Regions from separate parts of the Homo sapiens genome. Here region 1 is linked to region 2. Evidence: promoter capture Hi-C in 16 types of primary human blood cells and fetal thymus (Javierre and others, 2016). All regions are on one chromosome and are shown on one strand. Each heading gives the region's core, a stretch centred on a gene start or on the middle of the fragment in contact. The rest is flanking DNA. Distances are from core to core; before and after follow the strand shown.

Evidence for each region. The method cuts DNA at HindIII sites, captures the fragments that hold promoters and counts their contacts. A CHiCAGO score of 5 or more calls a contact.
Region 1: a contact is called between a fragment that was not itself captured here and the fragment with the promoter of SLC22A14 in region 2, in 1 of 17 cell types (neutrophils). The highest score is 5.2, in neutrophils.

What each region holds. Positions count from the first base shown.
Region 1 is chr3:37,976,351-37,981,079 of GRCh38, forward strand. CTDSPL (CTD small phosphatase like) reads left to right here. Exons shown (of 8, transcript NM_001008392.2): 8 at 4,392-4,729. The coding sequence ends at 4,517. Among named protein-coding and RNA genes, the nearest start is that of MIR26A1, 9.3 kb to the left of the region's middle. The HindIII fragment of the contact is 4,458 bases long and covers 338-4,729 here.
Region 2 is chr3:38,279,339-38,284,680 of GRCh38, forward strand. SLC22A14 (solute carrier family 22 member 14) reads left to right here and starts at 2,956. Exons shown (of 11, transcript NM_001320033.2): 1 at 2,956-3,001. The HindIII fragment of the contact is 3,768 bases long and covers 2,518-5,342 here.

The DNA.
Region 1 (4,729 bases), core at 1,317-3,816, 300 kb before region 2:
GAATAGGCCAGGTGTGGTGGCTCACACCTGTAATCCCAACCCTTTGGGAGGCCGAGGCAGATCACAAGGTCAGGAGATCGAGACCATCCTGGCCAACATGGTAAAACCCTGTCTCTACTAAATACAAAAAATTAGCCAGGCGTTGGTGGCACGCACCTGTAGTCTCAGCTACTCGGGAGGCTGAGGCAGGGCAATCACTTGAACCCGGGAGGCGGAGGTTGCAGTGAGCTGAGATCCCACCACTTCACTCCAGCCTGGCGACAGATGGAGACTCCGTCTCAAAAAAAAAAAAAAAATGAATAAAACACTTCAATAAGGTCTTCAAATAAGACTGCCAAGCTTTGCTACCTCATCATGATGTCTAAAAAGCACCCATTGGGAACATTTCATTCATAAAGCTCCCTGGACCATGGCAGCTCTCGGTGCCTACTCACTGGGTGCAGCACAACTCTCAGGGCAAGAAGGACTGCCTTCCTGCCTGCTGCCTGACACTTCCAGGGGAAAAGAGGCCAACCAGGGCCTCTGGTGACTGCTGACCCCTCAGTCTCTGCCACATCAGGCCCCTAGACCAGGCATTTTTCCCTGGAGAGGATGCTTCCTCTCAAGCACAGGCTTCTCAGATTCTACAAAAGCCTGCAAAGTCCTTTCCTTGAATCCAGAACTCTGCAGTCTCGCTTATAACCAAAAAAAATTCAAACTCAATTAATTTGGCTAGTGTGGAATCATTATTTGAATAAATACTCCAAATGTATTTCTATGTAAATGTGTTCATTTTACTGAGTAAATCAAATTCAACATAATATATTTGGTAACGTGTCTCTAACAGATAAGGATTGCTTTTTAATATAATCACAAGTCACGGTCAGATCTGACAAAGTAACAGTTTCTTACATTGTCTAATATCCAGACTGTGTTCATATTGTCCCTATCATCTCGAAGTGTTGTGCATTTGGAGTATTTCAATCGGGATCCAAAAAGATCCATGCATTGCTTTGGTTACTATGTCTCTTCATTCTTTTGCAATCTTAACACGTCTCCCTTTCCTCCCCTTTTCTCTTTTATGCCATTTATTTGTTGAAGAAGCCCTGGTGTTTTGTCTTGTAGAAATCTCCTACATTCTGGATTTGTCCAGCTGCTGTCTTGTGATGATGTTTAATATGTTCTTATAGCCACCTTATATCCTCTAAACAAGTAATTAGAGCTCTACTGCTTGATTAGATTCGATTTTTTTTTTTTTTGCAAGAATATATCATAGAGGCCAGATGCAATGGCTCACACCTATAATCCCAGCACTTTGGGAGGCCCAGGCAGGTGATCACTTGAGCCCAAGAGTTTGAGACCAGCCTGGGCAACATGGCAAGACCCCATCTCTTAAAAAAAAAAAAATTAGCCAGACGGGGTGGCAGACACCTGTGGTTCCACTGTCGTTCCAGCTACTTGGGAGGCTGAGGTGGGAGGATCTCTTGAGCCCAGGAGGTCGAGGCTGCAGTGAGCCATGTTCATGCCACTGCACTTCAGCCTGAGTGACAGAGCAAGACCCTATCCCAAAAAAAAGAAGAAAAAAATAATACATCATGGGTATTATACGCTTATGAAGATATCATATCAAGGAGGCATAAAATGTCAGGTTAGCCCACTTTTAAAGATTTAAAATTCATCATTGGGTTCAGGTGGTGTTAGCCTGATCCATCTATTATAAAATTCTCCCATGAACCTTTCACCTCATAATTTTAGCAGTTGTTGGTGATCATTGTCTACACCCACTATTTCATGAGGAATTGCAAAATGGCAATTTCTATTTTCAGACTAATGAGTTGGTGTTCTAGCGGCCTCCAAAAGTAGCCAATAATTTTTTTTTAGTATCATTATGAACTCATGGATTTGTTGTAGTTTCAGTCCATTTATTATTCTTTTGCATGCTCTAATTTTCACCTTTGGCTATGGACACTAATAACAAGTCTTTGATATAGGTTGAATATTCTTTATCTAAAATGCTTGGTACCAGAAGTGTCTTGGATTTTGGATTTTTTAGGATTTTGGAATATTTGCATATACATAATTGGATATCTTGGGGATGGAACCAAGTCTAAACATGAAATTCATTTCTGTTTTATGTACAGCTTATACACATAGCCTAAAGGTAATTTTATACAATATTTTTTATAATTTGGGGACACTAAATAAACTGTGTATCATGTGCCTGTGTTTTCACTACCACCTGGCACACGAGGTCAAGTGTAGAATTTTCCACTTGTGGTGCCATTGCTCAAAAAATTTTGGATTTTGAGGCATTTCGGGACTCAGATTTTTCAGATTAGGGATGCTCAACCTGTAGCTTCCTTACTTTCTTAAACAACAAGATGTTCCAGGCTCATGATGAACATTTCTTGCCTCAGCCCTGGAACCAGCCATTTTTGTATGGTGCCTGGTCCCTATTAGTGGAAGTGGTATTTAGAGACCACAGTTTAGGTGGATTTTCATTGCTAATGGGATATACTTTACTTCTAGCCCATACTACAGGGCAGAGCTAAAAATGACATATTTTTAGAAAGAAAACTAAATCATAAGTTCATACTGGTTTTTCCAATACAACGTTACGTTTTTATGTAACTTCTTTGCTTGTTTTGTTTTTGTATCCCTTTCTCTTATGCTGCAACTCTTGATTTCTAAAGATATTAACATAATTATATAATTGATCTGTAGTGTATGTTTAATAATTTCAGTAGCGGTACTAAATTATGGCTAATAATAAGACAACTCTATGCAGTTTAGGAATTTTTAGAGAGATGTACAGTTATAACACCATGTTTTAAAATCACTTGAATGCCAGGCTTGGTGGCTTACCTGGCTGCTTGCAATCCCAGCACTTTGGGAGGCTGAGGAGGGAGGATTACTTGAGCTTAGGAGTTTGAAACCAGCCTGGACAACAAAGCAAGATCCTGTCGCTACTAAAAAAAAAAGAAAAAAAAAAGGCTGGGGTGGTGGCTCATGCCTGTAATCCTAGCACTTTGGGAGGCCGAGGTGGGTGGATCACCTGAGGTCAGGATTTCAAGACCAGCCTGACCAACATGGTGAAACCCTGTCTCTACTAAAATACAAAAACTAGCTGGGCATGGCGGCAGGTGCCTGTAATCCCAGCTACTCAGGAGGCTGAGGCAGGAGAACCCAGGAGTTGGAGGTTGCAGTGAGCTAAGATCACACCATTGCACTCCAGCCTGGGCAACAAGAGCAAAACTCCATCTCAAAAAAAGAAAAGAAAAAAAATTAGCCAAGCGTGGTGCCACATGCCTATAGTCCCAGCTACTTGGGAGGCTGAGGTGGAAGGATCACTTGAGCCCAGGAGGTCAAGGCTACAGAGCTATGATTGCCACTGCACTCAAGCCTGGGTGACAGAGTGTGACGCTGTGTCACACACACACACACAAATCACTTGAAGTAATTGTGTGGTTGTGTCACCAATTTTATATACACTTAGATTCACTTTTATTGCTTTTTTTCTTAATGGTTTAATTGTATTTTAATTATATAACACATTTACATGGTTCCGACATCAAAACTATAAATAAAGACAGAGAAGTGTGTCCATTTCTGCCCTCTCCTCCACTCTCTCCCCATCCCCTAGGCGTAGTCATTTCTTTATTAGTCCTTACTTTATTTTTCAAAGTTACGTAATAAATGTCTATGTTTCTAAGCTATCTTTAGATTTGTAAAAGGGCTAAAATGTTACTTTTAAACATGTTTGGTTTATTCAAATTTGTTTATAAATCTCTCCTTTGTACCCCTGGCTACCACCCCTCCCCACTCCTCTGCCTAAAACTAAGGGAAAATCCTGTCTTTGCCCATAGCTTCAGAATGTTCTGCAATTTTAGACTTTTACTTTTAACTGATCACTGTTAAGCAAGGGAGGAAATTTACCACTTCTCTTTGTGATGTAATATTGCACAGTGACCCTAAGTGGAAGCCTTCCTGTGTCCTGGATGTGAGCTCCGCGCTGTCAGTGGTTGGCTTGTAAGCTCTGGCTCCAAGTGTTCTGAGGTGCAAGGAACCGATCTTGTGCAGTAGAAAGAGCTTTTGGAAGTTGGCAAGTAGCAAGGCTAGTTCTCATACATTCTATGCTCTGGCCACCTTTTTCTGTGGCAGGAAAACAAAACAGGCAAATGCACACAAACTGGGTACATTTAACTTTGCCTCCCTGAGCCATCTCCCAAGCCATTTAGCTTTGGATTGGCCTCAATTTGAACAAGGGAACAAACAAAATCATGATGATAACGATGATGACACCAGTCGTCCTTACTAAAGAAAGTGCTCAAAGTCCGGGTACCCGGTTAGGTTAGGAGCAGCCCCCAGCGCTAGATGCAGTCCTGCTGCCTCCTCCATGCACTGTCTTCCAGGTGCCTGTGCAGTCCTGGTTCGATGACATGACGGACACGGAGCTGCTGGACCTCATCCCCTTCTTTGAGGGCCTGAGCCGGGAGGACGACGTGTACAGCATGCTGCACAGACTCTGCAATAGGTAGCCCTGGCCTCTGCCTGCCTCCCGCCTGTGCACTCTGGAACCTCTGGCCTCAGGGGACCTGCCTGTCCTCAGCTCCCTGGGAGCTGAAAGTGAGGATACTCCGTGCTCCAGGCCACAGGGTGAATGTGGCCATGCCTACCTGTTTTGTTTTTTTAAGAACAGAAACAACTATTTTAAAAGAACTCTTTTAAGAAATTTCATAAAGGGACATGC
Region 2 (5,342 bases), core at 1,706-4,205:
CCATTTCCCAGCTAAAGGCAGTTTCCTCCTCTAAGATATGGACACTTGCTCCCTTTAAGACGGAATGATTGTCATTCCCAGGAAGAGACCTGAATGGCCAAGACTGGCTAATTTTTGTATTTTTGGTAGAGATGGGGTTTTGCCAAGTTGGCCAGGCTGGTCTCAAACTCCTGAACTCGTGATCCGCCCACCTCGGCCTCCCAAAGTATTGGGATTACAGGCATGAGCCACCATGCCTGGTCCCTGGAGACTTTTTCTTTCCTTTTTGGGGGGATTATGGTTGGTTGGGGAGAAAGATTTTTTTTTTTTTCTGTGTGTATTTAAAAGTGTCCTGTGGTTTGCTCTGATGAATGGGTAAGTGTCCTTTAGCAGTCACTGATGGGAGGTTGGCTGCTGAGGCCTCTGGGACTCTGAAGGAGAAGATATGCAGCTTCACTGGACCCTGGTTGTGTATCTCCTTGATTTTGCTCCTCAAAGGTTACGGCAATGGTGACTATCAGTCCTAAACATTTAGTCCAGGTGTGTGAAAGCGAAACTGTGCCCCAAACAGTTAAAGACACCAATGACTAACAGAAATTCTTGAGTTTGCAGGATGGTAGGTAAGCAAAGAAACAACTTGCTGAGATGCTGAAAGTCCCTCCACTTGTAAGACAACAAAGCTGGCTAAAATAGGTTGGAACCAATGTGGCCAACTAGAGTCTGTGCAGTACCTGCTTGCTGACATCACAGCCTGAATTTCCACTGCGTGTTTCATACTCACTCCCCCCGTACCTGCCCATGTGATCTATGAGGTGTCATGAAGAGAACTGCGCATGCTGGAGGACTTTCCAGGCCTCCTCTTTCCTTCCACTAATCACCTGCTAATCTCAGAATCCCGACACCTTTTCTAATAAAAACACTGCCTTAGCACCAGCCCAGGGAGACAGATTCAAGCTGGACTCCTGTCTCCGTGTCGGCCGGCCTATAATTACAAGCTTTTCTTTTCTCAAAAACCCGGTGTCATCATATTGGCTTCTAGCACATTGAACAGCAAGCCCCTTTCTGCCTAGAAACAATCTGACCCTCATATTTACTAGTTTTCTCAACCTGTAACCAAGGGAAACAAAAATGACCTCCTAAATTTTTAACAAAGGCAATCAACATTTGTAGCTGGTATGAATATTTGTTCTGTAAACTCATATCTGCAGGCAACAGAATGTTTCTTTAGCCTATGAGCCTCCATCTTGCTGAGCTGATTGGAAATTCATCTCAGCTGTTATTGGGGCTCTTCTCAACCCAGAGAGTTCTGGGATCTTTTTTTTTTTTTTTGAAAAGGAGTCTCAGTTTGTCACCCAGGCTGGAGTGCAGTGGTGCAATTCTCTGCTCACCGCAACTTCTGCCTCCTGGGTTCAAGCGATTCTCTTGCCTCAGCTTCCCGAGTAACTGGGATTACAGGTGTGCGCCACTGCGCCAGGCTAATTTTTGTATTTTTAGTAGAGACAGGGTTTTGCCATGTTGGCCAGGCTGGTCTTGAACTCCTGACCTCAGGTGATCCGTCTGCCTCAGCCTCCCAAAGTGCTGGGATTACAGGCGTGAGCCACCATGCCCAGCCGAGTTCTGGGATCTTATGTAACCAAAACAAACCAAAACAAAGGGGTGCTCCCACCCTGCTCTTCAGTCTCACTGATGGCTTCTGGGTGCTCACTGTGCTGTCTGCTTGGTCCCTTTGACCCCCAGAGTGCTGCTGCTCAAGAGTGGGGAACTCTAGGGGGGATGAGGGGCCTAGGACCAACCACTGAGGTGACCTGCAGACACCCCGAGGGAGGTCTGGTGAAAGAGGAAGGATCTGATGCCCCAGATACCAATAAGATTGCAGTGCCCTGCCCCCAAACAAGTGAAGATTGAGCCATAGGAAACTGCAAAAGAGCTGTAAGTAGGTTTCCCTGTGATCAATACTTCATTTTTTTTCAAATATATGAAATTCTTTTAATTTTTTTTTGTGTCTTAAGTGTCTGTGTTAGTCCATTTTCTGTTGCTTATAACAGACTGCTTGAAACTGAGTTATTTATAAAGAAAAGAAATTTATTTCTTACAGTTCTGGAGGCTGGGAAGTCCAAGGTTTAGGGAATACATCTGGTAAGGGCCTTCTTGCTGTTGGGAACTCTGCAGTCTCCCAAGGGGGCACAGGTGAGGGAACCGAGCAAGCTAGCTTGTCTTTCTTCCTCTTGTTATAAAGTCACCAGTCCCATTCTCATAACTCATTAACCCATTAATCTACTAATCCATGATTGGTGATTCATGGATTAACAGATTACACTCATGACCCAATTACATCTTAAAGGCCCCATCACGCTACCACACTGGAGATGAAGTTTCAACATGAGTTTTGGAGAGGACAAATATTAAGCCATAGCAATGCTCTAATTTTGTTGAGGTCCTAAGTACATGCTGTACTGGTACAAGGATGGTCTGCCTTGTACTAGGCCCTGTGCTGGTTTTCCTGTCCTGCCACTTTGGCCTCCCTTCCCCCAAGCATGAAGCTTGAAGCCCTGTTCCTGCAATCTGGCAGAGGAGGCTTCTAGCTTATGGGGGAGATGGGTCAGACCCCGGCAGCTCTGACCAAGGCTGGTTGGCAGGGGAGTGTCACGGAGAGACAGAGCAGAAGTGAGTGGGGTAGGGCCAAGCCATTTCCAGCTGTGGGCTCAGGAAGGCTTGAAGGATAGTTGATAAATGAGTGATATCTGGAAGGACAGGAGAATTTCCGAGAGTGGAGGTGGAGCCCTCGTGTGGAGGAAACAGCCTGCACAAAGACAGGGGCAGGGGGGTTCGTGTGGCAGTTTTCCTGACCTGCCTTGCCCCTGGAGGCTACAGCCAGTTGTGTCCCTGGAGTAGAATGCTGACCCTCACCATTCCCAGCTCACCCCAAGGACCTCCCCACCCCATTGTGACACTACTTCCTGGACACCAGTGGAGCTCAAAGGTTCTGCTTCCAAGGGTCTGGCTGGGCCTGGATTGTGGTCAGGTGGGCCCTGGCTTTGGCTTGCGGTCCTGCCTACAGGGAGGCAGGGCCGGGAGGGTGTGGAGAGTAGAAATTATGATGACCCCTGGCAATTTTGCGGCCGCGTTCTCAGCACAGGTGTGGACAGGAGCCTGCCTGGGCCTGTTTGGCTGTGGGGAATCTGTGGAAGGAGCGGGCTGCCCTCCCAGAAAGCGTGAGTTCTCAGGTGTGGCGTCTGGCCATCTCCTGCGGCAGGTGGAGTGCTCCTCCTGGCTATGCTTCTCCCAGGCCTCAGTTACCTCTTTGGCACATTGAGAGCCAATTGCCTGGGGCCTGTCCACCTGGCAGAGGACCTTTGGGATGAGTAGAGGGAGTGAGTGCTCCAGGGTATTGGGGTATCAGGTGGTGCTGGGGGATGCTGAAGCGGTCCCTGCAGAGGGAGGCTGGTACAGATGGCTCTGGTCCAGAAGCCACATCTCTGAGAGGACAGCGGAGGCTCTCCCTCCCTGGAAAGTCTCCTTTATCCACCTCCACCCTCTCCAGCCTTACACACATACATCCTGTATTGGTTTCCTATTGCTGCTATAACAAATGCCCACACTTAGTGGCTTGAAACAGCAGAGACTTATTACCTTATGGTTTTGGAGGTCAGAAGAACAAATGGGCCTCAGCAGGCTAAGATCAAGGTCTCAGAAGGATTGCCTTCCTTTCTGGAGGCTCTAGGGCAGAGCTCATTTCCTTCCTTGCCTTTTCCAGCTTCTAGAGCCTCCTGCATTCCTTGGCTCTGGGACCCCTTGCATCTTCAAAGCCACCGACGGCTGCCCAAATCTTTATCACGCTGCATTTCTTTGGGTCTTATGCATTTAAGGATCCTGGGATTAATGGGACCTACCTGACAATCCAGGATAATCTATTTTAAAGTCAGCTAAGTAGTAACCTTAACTTCATCTGTAACTTTAACCCCCCTTGCCATGTAAGGAAACATATTTACGAGTTCTGAGGATTAGGCATAGATCTCTCCGGGGGGCGCTTATGCAGCCTCCCCCACCTCCCAGCACACACACATCTAAGCATGCTCTCCCTCTGTGTTCCCTGCCTCTTATGCACCTCCAAATTCTGCTGAGATAAGGGATCCCGAACTCAGGGCCAGGCAGGAGGCAAAGACAAGTGAAATGGGGAAATGGTGCTGGGCTCTGCTGGGCCTCCTGCATGCACACATCAGAAGTAGCAGGAGCCGGGTGCAGTGGCTCACGCCTGTAATCCCAGCACTTTGGGAGGCCGAGGCGGGAAGATCACTTGAGGTCAGGAGTTCGAGACCAGCCTGGCCAACATGGTGAAACCCCATCTCTACTAAAAATACAAAAATTAGCCAGGCGTGGTGGCTTGCACCTGTAGTACCAGCTACTCGGGAGGCTGAGCCAGTAGAATCACTTGAACCCAGGAAGCAGAGGGTGCAGTAAGCCGAGATCACACCACTACATTCCAGCCTGGGTGACAGACCGAGATTCTGTCTCACAAACAAACAACAACAACAACAATAATAACAAAAAACAGAGCAGACTCTCAGTCTAAAGGAGGGGCCCCTGCTCAGATTTGCTAATTGTTGCCAGATGGGAATGCTGTCCCATTGGCCAAACTTCAAAAAGAAAATGCTGCATTTATGTGAAATCAACTTTTGGCAGTTAAATCACATTCCAAGACACAGTGAGGCACCAAATGGGCTAGCCAAGGGAAATGTGTCTGCAGGCTGGATTTGTCCCGTAGACGATGAGCTGGAGACCTCTTCCCTGGATTATGGAACAGCAGTCGCAGTCTGAGAAGGAGGCATCCCCCTCGTGTGACTGGTAGAAAACTAGGGGCCCAAGAGGGAAAGGGGACTCCTCCTCAAGCAGACAGCTCTTCTCCATCCCTGTCCGCCCTGTCCGATAGTAGAGCGAGGGGCTCATGGTGGCTTCTGAAAGTGGCCCTAGCCTTGGCTAGGGCTAGTGGGGCAGCTTGGTGACATGCCCAGGTGAGGACCCCATGGGGGCTGGGGGCCAGGCTGGGTCACTCCTCCAGGGCCGGCCTAAGAGGGATAGATTTGGCGAATGCAGCTCGGCCTCCCCACAGATCCCTGCCCTCTAGGCCCACCACAGTGCCATCCCCAGCCAGGCAAGGGCCCCTGGTGTCCCAGCCAAGGCCCGTCCTCTAAAGAATTCTCTGAAGAAACTTTCCCAGAATGCTGGGAATGTGCAGGGATCTTGGCAGAAATGAGAGGAAGAACTTAGAAAGGAGGCCTCCGCTAATCATTACAATATGCCTCAGTGTCTTCTGCAGTGCTTAGGGAGCAAGTTCCCGTGAGACGAAGGACCAGAGCGTAGGAAAT